Regions from separate parts of the Homo sapiens genome. Here region 2 is linked to region 1. The links are contacts of gene promoters, found by promoter capture Hi-C in blood cells and fetal thymus (Javierre and others, 2016). All regions are on one chromosome and are shown on one strand. The core of a region is centred on a gene start or on the middle of the fragment in contact, and the rest is flanking DNA. Distances in the headings are between cores, read along the strand shown. Region 1 holds the start of ABCC8 (ATP binding cassette subfamily C member 8). Region 2 overlaps PLEKHA7 (pleckstrin homology domain containing A7).

What was found. Contacts are between HindIII fragments. The CHiCAGO score rates a contact against its expected background, and 5 or more counts as called.
Region 2: a contact is called between a fragment that was not itself captured here and the fragment with the promoter of ABCC8 in region 1, in 2 of 17 cell types (naive CD8 T cells and naive B cells). The highest score is 6.1, in naive CD8 T cells.

What each region holds. Positions count from the first base shown.
Region 1 is chr11:17,475,134-17,480,520 of GRCh38, forward strand. ABCC8 (ATP binding cassette subfamily C member 8) reads right to left here and starts at 1,712. Exons shown (of 39, transcript NM_000352.6): 1 at 1,496-1,712. The coding sequence starts at 1,643. It overlaps LOC124902641 (a long non-coding RNA gene), which reads left to right and starts at 1,518. Exons shown (of 2, transcript XR_007062609.1): 1 at 1,518-1,598. RefSeq lists an enhancer at 368-924. The HindIII fragment of the contact is 8,626 bases long and covers 1-2,894 here.
Region 2 is chr11:16,802,248-16,807,662 of GRCh38, forward strand. It overlaps PLEKHA7 (pleckstrin homology domain containing A7), which reads right to left. Exons shown (of 27, transcript NM_001329630.2): 14 at 980-1,048; 15 at 725-805. Among named protein-coding and RNA genes, the nearest start is that of C11orf58, 66 kb to the left of the region's middle. RefSeq lists an enhancer at 1-1,102. The HindIII fragment of the contact is 166 bases long and covers 2,952-3,117 here.

The DNA.
Region 1 (5,387 bases), core at 462-2,961:
CACCTACACATGAGGATCCCCAAGGCTGGTACACACAAACTAAACGTCCAACTCATTCAGCCTGGTCCTATGCTGGTACCTCCCCCACCACACCTTTTTACTGAGACAGGGTCTTGCTCTGTTGCCTCTGCTGGAGTGCAGTGCCACGATCACGGCTCACTACAGCCTTGATCTCCTAGGCTCAAGTGATCCTCCCGCCTCAGCCTCCTGAGTAGCTGGGACTACAGGCGCACATCACCATGCTCAGCTAATTTTTAATTTTTTGTAGAAAGGGCGGGGGGGGTCTCACTATGTTGCCCAGGCTGGTCTCGAACTCCTGGACTCAAGCAGTCTTCCTGTCACAGCCCACCAAAATGCTGAGATTACAGATGTAAGCCACTGTGCCCTGCCAAGGTACCCCATTATACATACTAACTTCTTGTGTGACAAGTCATCAGGTTAATAAACCGTTTGGCTGAGAACAGAAGTGTAAATGCTGTTCTTTTTTGATTTTTGATGCACATATGAGCACATATTTTGTATGTTTTATTTCTATTTCTATCTAACTGTCTTTGTTAATAACTAGCAACTCTGCTTCTGCAGCAACCTCTTGTAAATCTAATTTTGTGACAATCTTTCCTTTCTTCCCCAAAGCTGTATATGAATTTTAAGATTTGCTTGTTTTCTTAAAGTGAATGAACACGTTTTGGGGATGCAGGGGACACCCTATGAGTTGATAGACTTGACTGGTCTGGAAGAGTCAAGGTCTTGGAGAGAGATGGGGGGGACCTCAGTGGAGAGGCACGCACGATTGTCCCGGCCGTGGCGCCCAACTTTGCAAGCAAGGGCGCCGGGGTCGCTGCGTCGGCGAGTCGGAGCTACTTTGCGCAGAGCCTGAGAAGTTGCGCTCTGGAGACACATGCCCGGGTGGGGTGGCGGGGGAAGGGAATCCAAGTCCCTAGCTCTCGCCTCTCCTCGCCCAGGGCGCGGGCCTGGGACTGTCAGAGATCACGGACCACTGCGCGGCTCAGCCCGGTGAAAGCATAGGGGTTAGCTGGGCCTCCATCCCAGACTCCAAAGCACAGGCTTCCCTCTTCCCTAGGCCCAGCTGCGGCTGACAGGGAGGCTGCCTTGCGGGAGGGGTGACCCGGCTCCCTAAGCTGCGCCACGGAGGGTGAGGCCCGACCCCTCTCCAGTTTCCCACTGCGTGCTGAGACCTCCTCTTTCCCTTTTCCCCATCCCAGCTCTTGGCCCTGCAGAAGCAAAACTTGGTGATCCCATGGGTCACAAACGTCCGCTGTGTTTGGCGCGGGATCGGGGGCACCGGGGGAGTGAAGGGATGAGCTGGTGTGCGAGTGCGGGGACCGGCGGGCAGGACACAGGGCAGGGGACCCCGGGAACGAGGCGGACGGCGGTCGCGGGCCGGAAGGGGACGCCGAGCGGTGCGGCGCGCAGCGCCTCCTCCTCCCTCCCTGCTCTCCCGTCCCCTCCTCCGCGGCTCGCTGCGCGCACTCACCAATGAAGAGGATGGGGAAGGTGATGAAGAGTAGGAAGACGTGCGGCACCACGTTGAGCGCGTCCACAAAGCAGCCGTTGTTGAGGACCCCCTGGTCCACCCGGTAGGCGGCCGAGTGGTTCTCGCTGCCGCAGAAGGCCAGGGGCATGGCGGCGCGGGCGCGGGCTGGGCTCGGGCTCAGCTGGCTCCGCTGGCTCCGCGCGCCTGCCGCGCCTCTGTCCCTTGCAGCTCCGCCGCCCGGCCCGGCCGTCAGGCCCCCGCCCCCCGGGCCCCGCCCAGCCCCGCTGGCCTCCCCCTCCCTCACCCCGCCCTGCTCCACCACCTGCGGGGCCGGGGGGCGGCGAGGAACCCGACCGGCCCTGCTACGCTTGCGCCCACCTTCCAGATGTGGAGGCGCGTGCTCCCAGATGTTGCCGGGGTGGCTTCGTGAGTGCCCTGATGCACGCGTGCGCTGGGGGAGAGGGGAAAGGCAGGCTAAGATGGGGAGTGGGGTGTGGGCACACTGGAGTCTGGGTGGGAAAGGAGGGTGGGGCGTGCAGAAGAGGAGAGAAGGGCCCGCAAGGCCTGGAGTGGGCGGGTTCAGGGTCCCGAGTGTGAGTTCACCTGGGCGTGGTGCGGATGGATGTAGAGAGCCGAGGGATGGCGCAAGTCTCCACCCAACATGGATGAGAAAAGTGGGGCAGAACGTTACCTTGTGGTGGTGGTGGTGGTGGGGTGGGGCTTGGACATTTTCAAAAGTGGTCCCAGGTGGGGCACTCCTAGGTACTGCTTTACAGCGTATCTGGCACTTTCACACAAGGGATGTCCCAGAACTCTTGCTAAGTACAGGTTCTAATCGCTTCCAATTTTCTGATGGGGAAACCCAAGCTGCGAGGGAGCTGAAGGGAGGCCAGTAACATGACTTCCCCCAAGGTCTCAGTGCCAGCAAGCAGGGAAGCATAGCTTGAACCCAGCTCCTCAGGTCCCCCGTCCCCACCCCCATCATTTGTACTCATGCCTCTGGTACATGACAACCTTACAGCGACTGGCAGACCAATGGGTAGAATGGGTGACAGCCCCAGGCTGATAAAGAGGAGTTTAAGAAACGCATCTGGCCAGATGGATGTGAGGCAGTGGAGAGGGACTGAAATTCTTAACCTCACCTGGGACAGGCTTAACAGTTGGAGGACACCGTGCAATTGTAAAGACAACATTATGTCTTCCTATACGTTTTGGAGAGATTCTCACAAGACTGTGGCCCAAAGAAGTTTATATTGTATGTAGAAAGAACAGAAGATGGGATTTGGGGGTTAGATTTAAGGAGAACTTTCCTAGTTAGGGTATGAAGCATAAATGCACATGTTCTTAGGAACAGTCAGGGGAACACAAAAGAAAGACCCCTTCAGCCCCTTTGCCTACAAGCTTCACTGAGCCTGCCCTGAGGCTGCTGAGCCTGGTGAGCCTCTCCAGCACGCTGTCAGCAAGGCCGAGGCTCTGCCCAGGCCCTGAGGCAGAGGGCAGATGGGGTTGGGTGAAAAGCCTTGGGAAAGCAGGAGTTCAGGGTCTGAATGCCTCAGTCTCTGACTTTGGAGAATTTCTCAGAAGCCAAAAGATGTTTCTTGCAGCATCAGCCAAAATAGTGAAAACTTGGTGGCAAGAAATATCCAGCACCAGGGACAGGGGTTAATCAACCTTGAAAAATGCAACTGCTGGGACGGTGCTAGCTGAGTCTGTGTAGTCAATAGAAAAACTTTACAAGATAGTGTCAGGTGAAAAACGGCAAACAAAATTGTGCTTCCCATGATTATAGCCGTACGAAATATGTATACTTGCATGAAGCCTGCAGGGAAAGGTCAGACTTGGAAATTTGGTAAGGCGGTGCTCAGTATGTACTGGCTGCCGTCGCTGTGCTTATCCTCATTCCCTTTCTTTAAAAATGAGACAACTGAGGTTCAGAGAGATGAGATGACAGGTCCATGGTCACCCAGTAAGATTTTTTCTTTTAGTTTGTTTTTCTTGCTTTCAAGGTTTTTTTTTTTCATATTTTCTGCAATGTTGTTATTTTCTTTTGTAGTTACAATTTCAGTTTTTTCACACTTTCAGCAATGCTATCTTTCTTTTTAGCAGTAATAATATATTTACTTTTAAAGAACAGGGCTCCTAGTCCTGGCTCTACTACTACTAGTTGTGTGATTTGGGGGCAGGTTACCATTCTGCACTTCAGTTTCCTTATTTCTAAATGGAAAAGATAATAATATGGAACCCAGAAGATTAAGATGAGATCATGGGTATGAATGTGCTTTGCAAGTTGGGGAGATAGTCCAAGCTACTTCATCCCATGGGTGACTACACACGGCAGCCCCTTGATCAATCAGGGTTATTTAATGGTCTCTCCCTCACCCCACATTGCCTGGTGCAACCCTCACACTTGCCTATTCTGGGTCATTTGAAACAAACAAAAAGTCTGGTGTTAAGGGAGCATCAACTGGGACTAAGAGAGTGTTAAGTCTGGAGTCTTGGGGACTCGTGTTTGCCATCTCTAGCACAAACTTACTGTGTGACTGTGGACAAATTCCACCTTTCCCTGCACCTAGGTCTACACTGAGGACATGCACCACACTGCCCACCATGTGGGTGGGAGAATTACTTTGAAAAAGTGTGGAGTCAGGTGCGCACGGAGGCATGAAAGGACTTCCTTTGTAGTATATGGGTTGTATTCCTGGAATCAACCCAAATGCTCATCAGTATGGGGCTGGTTCAAACAGACAAAACCCAAACAGACAAAAAACAGATATTGTCTGTACTGTGGGATACTGTGGAGCAAGCGCAGAGAATAGAGTTATGCTTACTGGCAGGGGAAGATGTCCAAGACACAGACGCAGAGCGGTGTGTGGCATACAAAATCATTCATGTCTGTAACAGGGCTACGTCTGCCTCTGTCGGGGAGATGCTGGGTCTCTGGTGCTTCCCCACCTCTAGCCATGCCTTTTGTTTCTCTTGCTAGGGGCTGGAAGAAGGTCAGACTCTGAGAGCTTGCTTTGAGCAAGGGTACCCCGCTCTGAGAATTCCCAGCCATTCTCCTGGCAAAATGAAAACTAGGGCTGGATTTCCGGGATTGGATTCTCACACTCACCGGCTACTGGGTGGGTGTGGCCTCAGGCAGGGTGCAGTAAAGGGGCTGGTGCAGAGCTTCAGAAAAGTCCTTTCCAGATCCCTTGAGCCAGGGAGGTTAAGGCTGCCGTGAGCCATGATCGGGCCACTGCACTCCAGCCTGGGCGACAGAGAGAGACCCTGTCTCAAAACAAAACAAAACAAAACAAACAAACAAAAAGTCCCTTCCAGCTCTGATGTTGTTCTGGCCTTAGTGCCTTTGTCTCTATCTGGCTGACTAGGAGTGCCAGTGTTCCAGTGACCATGGCAGAGGGGGTCATTACAATGACAATGGTGACGTAATGGAGTGGGGTTATAGTTGAAGAAATAAACCCTTTCAATAACCACAATCAACAGCGGCCTGGTTAAAAACAGACAAAAGCAAAACTCATGGTGTGACCTATACTATGGAATAGTGGAGAACAAGTACAGAGCCTAAGTTCGGGTGACCCTTACTGACTGGGAAAGGTGTGTCCTTTCCTGTCTCCTTCAGGTGCTCAAAGCCTGTATCCACAGGGGAACTTGGAAGACTGTAGAACCAGTGAAAGAGAGGACTGATGTAGAGACAAAATGTCTTAACTGGAACCTGGGAGGGAGAAGTGATCTCCTGTCTCATCTCCATCCTGCCCCATGTCAGGAGGAGGGAAGTAGAGAGAGAAGTTCTTTTGAGAGGGAGCCTGTGCCCAGCCTCCCTGCCTGTCTGTTGTAGAGGTGGCTGGGGGACAGCCACCCAGAAAGGGCAGGTTGTGTGTAGACTGTGTTA
Region 2 (5,415 bases), core at 1,785-4,284, 670 kb before region 1:
GCCCCTGGCCCATTCCGGCACTCCCATCCAGACTTGCTGCCTCCATAGCCCAGATCCTAGGAGACAAGGAGCTTTAGGAAGCAAAGGCCTCTGCCCTGTAATGACTACAGCCACTTCCTCCAAAGGAACCCTGCTTCCCTGGGGTTCAGGGACCTGGGGTCATCACATATAAGCCAGTGGAGCTCCTCTCCCAGGCTCACCTCACAGGGCCTCCACGGAGAGGTAAGCCAAAGCAGAATGGGGGCAGGAGGGTCTCTATAAGATAGAAACCCCTAAGAAACACCATTTAAACACAAAGGCTTTTTTTTTTTTCCTCCTGAGACGAAGTCTTCCTCTGTTGCCTAGGCTGGAATACAGTGGCGTGATCTCGGCTCACTGCAACCTCTGCCTCCCGGGTTCAAGCAATTCTTCTGCCTCAGCCTCCTGAGTAGCTGGGATTACAGGTGCCCACCACCATGCCCAGCTAATTTTTGTATTTTTAGTGGAGACAGGGTTTCACCATGTTGGTCAGGCTGGTCTCGAACTCCTGACCTCATGATCCACCTGCCTTGGCCTTCCAAAGTGCTGAGATTACAGGCATGAGCCACCGCACCTGGTGCATTTTTTTTTAAATAAGCTAACATCTGCTCTTCAATACTAACATGAGGGTCCAGCCTATGTCTCAAGAAAGACAGGACAAAATGTCCCTCTGCCCATTCCAAGATTATTCAAAACTGACACGTACTTTGTTCTCTTTAAGGGCTCGTATCTTGTCTTCCAAGTCCTGGAGGACCCTGTCTTGTTCACAGAAGATGCTCAGTTTGACCTAAAAGCAAGAACAGGTGGAGAGGGCCTGGGGTGATGAGAAAAGGACATGACCTTGGGATTGCAATCAGACAGCCTTTGGCTACAGAACCATCCAAGCCCTGCCTGAAGCTGTTCACCCGGGGTCTGGGTCAGGAGGCAGCTGAGGGGTCAGCGTGTCACTCTGCTCACTCACGTCAGTGTCGCTCTCAGCGATCTTCACAGGCTTCAGACTTCGATCCTTGAGAAGGTCCCGGCCTGTCATCTGGGAGGCGAACAATTTAAAAGAGATTTAACCATGGTGTTTGAGATCAGAACTCAGGAAAGAAAATTCATCCTATAATGGATGGTGTGGAAGTCCTTGGCAGTGGCAGGTAGGGTCATAGTATGAGAGGGACAAAAACTTGGGCCATACTTCGCTATTTCTATGCCTATTTCATTTTAGGAAAAAACCAAAACCTTTTGATGATTCTAGTAATGCTGGTAAGTCCTTTGAGTTAAAGAAAATGTAGATGTTCAAGTTAAAGGATCATCAATTTTAAAAGTATATATTTGCCTAAAATGAATGTGAAAAATCAGCATGAATCTTGGAAGATTTGCCACCGATAAGACAGAGGTGTACTACTGAACGTGGGAACAAACACAAGTTACGAAGCCCATCACCCCCTGCCCAGGGTGGTGAGATGGGCAGACCCAGAGGAACAAACAAATCCCTTGACCATTGTCAAGCCTTAGTTTAATGAAGTCTCTGAGCAGCCCACTTCCCCGTGGGTAAGGCCAGCCTTCCTTACCCTTTACCATTTGGGAAGAAGACCTGGCCAAGGTAAAAAGGAACCTGGCTAGTTCCCAGCAAGGGTTTTTAATTGTTCCCTGAATAACTGAGGCTAGGCTGTACTTGTGTAAGTTACAAGAAAGGAAACCATAAAGCAATATACAAAAGTCACCCAAACTTGCGGGCCAATGGGATTTTACATTTCCCATCCCTCACTTGACTCAAAGTAGGCAATATGCTGCCTGTCTCTCACTGACTCCTGAGAATCTAAATCTTACTTATCCCATTTTTCCATTTCCCCCAATTTCTTTCTTGCCAAAAGTCATGCAGGGGCTGAGGGGAGTGACTTTCACAGATGCACCCTCCCATGGCCAAGATAAGGCCAGGGAGAACCAAGTCTATTTTGCCTAATGTAGGGGAAACCACCTCACTGAGCTCTATTTTGCAGATCTGACCAGGAAAATGGAGGGTGGAGCTAACAGTGGCAGAGACAGGTGGTGTGTGTGTGCTATGCAGAGAGGTCCCAATGTGGACCGATAGCTGCTGGAGAGAGAGGTGTAGATTTCTCCCCATTCTATCTGTAAGGTCCAGGAAGTTTGTCAGTGTGGATTGGGGGTGGAAATAAATTGGCAAACATTCCACTCAGTGCTCAAGCCCTTCATGTGCCCAACTGTCCTATGCTACCTCTCCCTGCAAACTGTCATGAGCAAATCCAAAGGTCAAGGGAGAGGACCTCTCCCTGCCTTGGAGTGAGGACTGATTCTGGGCTACACACATGCCCCACCCATTCCCACGATCCCTTTGGTCACACAGAAGAGGACGGAACCATTGTTTTATCTTGGTAAAGTCAGCCCTGAACAGAAGACCTGGCACAAACTCAGCAAATGCTTATTGAATTGCATTGCATGTAGGTCAAAGGGAAACACATGTAGGTCAGTGTTGTTGAGTTCCCGGAAAAAATAGAACTCCAGCCAAATTCTGCTCTTCAGACTGTCAGATTATGTGTACATACACGTATACACACAGTTGCAGAACACAAGACTGCAACAATCCACAAACAAACAGACTGTGCTGTCTCCTGCAATGCGGGGGGGGCGGTGCAGGGAGGTGTGGGGAGGTGGGCATGAAGTTAATCCTGGTGAATCACAAACAGCTGAACTTCTCAGGCAGAATGTGGGTTTTAAACTCAGGGGAACCCAGGAGAAAAAGCAGGTGAAAGCAGTGAAGTCTTCGCTCTATGCCATCGTCCTTTCATCAAAGCCAAGAACAAGGAGGTTGTCTATTCTCCAAACCGGCTGACCTTTGGGGCTCATTTTCTAGGTAGAAATCATTTTCAAATGGAGATACACTCTGGGGATTCTTTCCCCCAGCAAAACTCTTCCCCTTATTTCACTGAAGCTTTTTACAGAGGATGTCTTTTTGATACTTAAATAACAAGCCAGAAAATCTAATTGAGCAATGCCTCATTTATCCAGCACCATCAGGAAAAGAATGAGATATTTTATATAAAAAGGACATTTTGAGAAGAAGCTGAATCCTCTAAATTATACTTTTTGATGGAAAGCTTTCTAAAAGTATGCCCTTTGCTGCCTTCATGGAATACTGAATATACATTCAACCTTTTTTTTCTCTCTCTCAGGATATTAGTACTACCTCTTTTTCTAAGAAGTAGATTTCTCTTGTCCCTTTTTAAAGTGCTGCTTATCTTGCCAGGCACGGTGGCTCACACCTGTAATCCCAGCACTTTGGGAGGCCAAGGCGGGTGAATTATGAGGTCAGGAGTTCAAGATCAGTCTGGCCAACATGGTGAAACCCCATCTCTACTAAAAATACAAAAATTAGCCAGGCACAGTGCCGCGCACCTGTAGTCCCAGCTACTCGGGAGGTTGAGGCAGGAGAATCTCTTGAACCTGGGAGGCAGAGGTTGCAGTGAGTTGAGATTGCGCCACTGCACTCCAGCCTGGGTGACAGAGCGAGACTCCATGTCAAAAAAAAAAAAAAAAAACAAAAACAAAAACAAAAAAAACTGCTGCTTACTAGGTGTTGTAGGTTAGGAATTCAAAGGACTATAAGCTCGACTGACACGAGGTACTTACATCTCTTCTCTCCCTTTAACTGGGGGTGATGCCCTTCAGGGTGCTCTTTCCACACGTTGCATCTGCTGCTACTACAGCACCCAGCACATTAGAGTACAATGTTCCGTTTGCTCATTTGTCTCTCCTCACTAGAGAGTAACCTAATTAGGGGTGACTGTGGAGATGGATGCCTTTCCTCTGTATCCTCAAAGCCCAGCCAGGGCCTAGCATATTGAAGAAATTCGGGCAATGTTTGCTCAGTGAGTTCATGAATGTATCAAAGTAATGTGAGCTGACTCTGTCTCCTATGGACGAAAGGTCACAGGCTTTAGAGCATGGGCTTGATGAGAGCTGTTTCTACAGCTCAGAGGACCGTTAAGCTTCTGAATGTAGCTCTGCTCCAGACAGCCGAGGCTGCTAAGAAATATTATATCCACGTGTAGCGTATTACATCTAATTTTCCTTTTAAAAGTGTGTTTGTTATAGCCATGTTCAAATACACTTAAAACATCAACTCTGGGTCCCCCCAGCATCTCTGTCATCAGAAAAAGTAAAAGTCTGTGGGTGCTCATCCATTTGAAAGAGTCTCTCCATCAGAGGGGAATCAAAGGCCACCCAGGCATCTTCCCTCCCCTCCACCACATCCCAACCCACTTTCTCAGGGCTCACGATGGTTGGACACAACACCTGCTTCTCGATCTGCATCCTCCCCTGGAATGCTGTGAGAGCTGGCCACATTGCAGTCCCTACTTCTGCATCAATCAAAGAGGGTATGGGCAGGGGGTGGCATTTTATTCTAGTCCAGCTCCAGGCTGTTATCCAAATACCAACTGCCTGCCCCCAAAAAGTGCCACCTTAATCTCAGGGCCACCGTGGCATCTGAGGATACCCTGGCTCTTGGAAGATGACCAATAACTGCTGTTCCCTCCCAAGAAACTCATGCTCAACTCTGTCTGGGTGAGCCCTCGCCATGGAGGCAGACACGTGATGATGGAAACACAACACAAGCTGGTGGCAAGCCAGGCAAGCTCCCCCACCCTTGGCAGCACAAAACATGGAGTCACAGAAAACTGCAGATGAGAGGCTCAGCCTGGTGCATCAGCCAAAATGCTGAAGAGAGCTTCAGTTGAAAGAAAATAAACCAAAATGACTTGCGGGAAGCCTGGGGCGGTCAGGAGAGCAACTGGTTAAGCAAGTGATGAAGTCGGCACCGAGCCAGAAGCAATGGAATGACCCCGCTTGGAGACACGGATCAGATCATCTTACGCTTCTCCTGGGCCGACAGCCCCGTGCTGACTTCTTCAGCACTTTGTAAAGCACGTTGATCAAAGGTTCATTATTTTTAATCTGTTCCAAACAAAAAGGCAGATACAACAAAACGTAACAGGTGAGACATCAAATGACACTTGAAGCAGCCAGAATTTGGGGAACTGGCAAAGGGAAAACTTTAAGGAGGCTGTGTGCTATGCAATTCAAACAACCAGGCCTGAATCTTGGTGATGCTACTTCCATGGGACCGTGGATGCTCCTCCCATGGGCCATGGGACCTTCCCAGACTGCAGCTCTCTCCTTTTTATAAAATGTTATATGCTGTCTGAAGGGACTTTTGCACAGGCTGGTTTTTGTGGGAGTGCAATTTCAGTGTTCATTTCCTTCCTGGTTCTGCGGCAGAAGGCAAGGAGGAACATGATAGAAGGGAACTTGCTTCTTCTTTTGTCCTCCCTCATCACATTCTGTAAGATACTAGTTTAGAGTCGTGCCATGCATTCATCTCACCCCCACTCA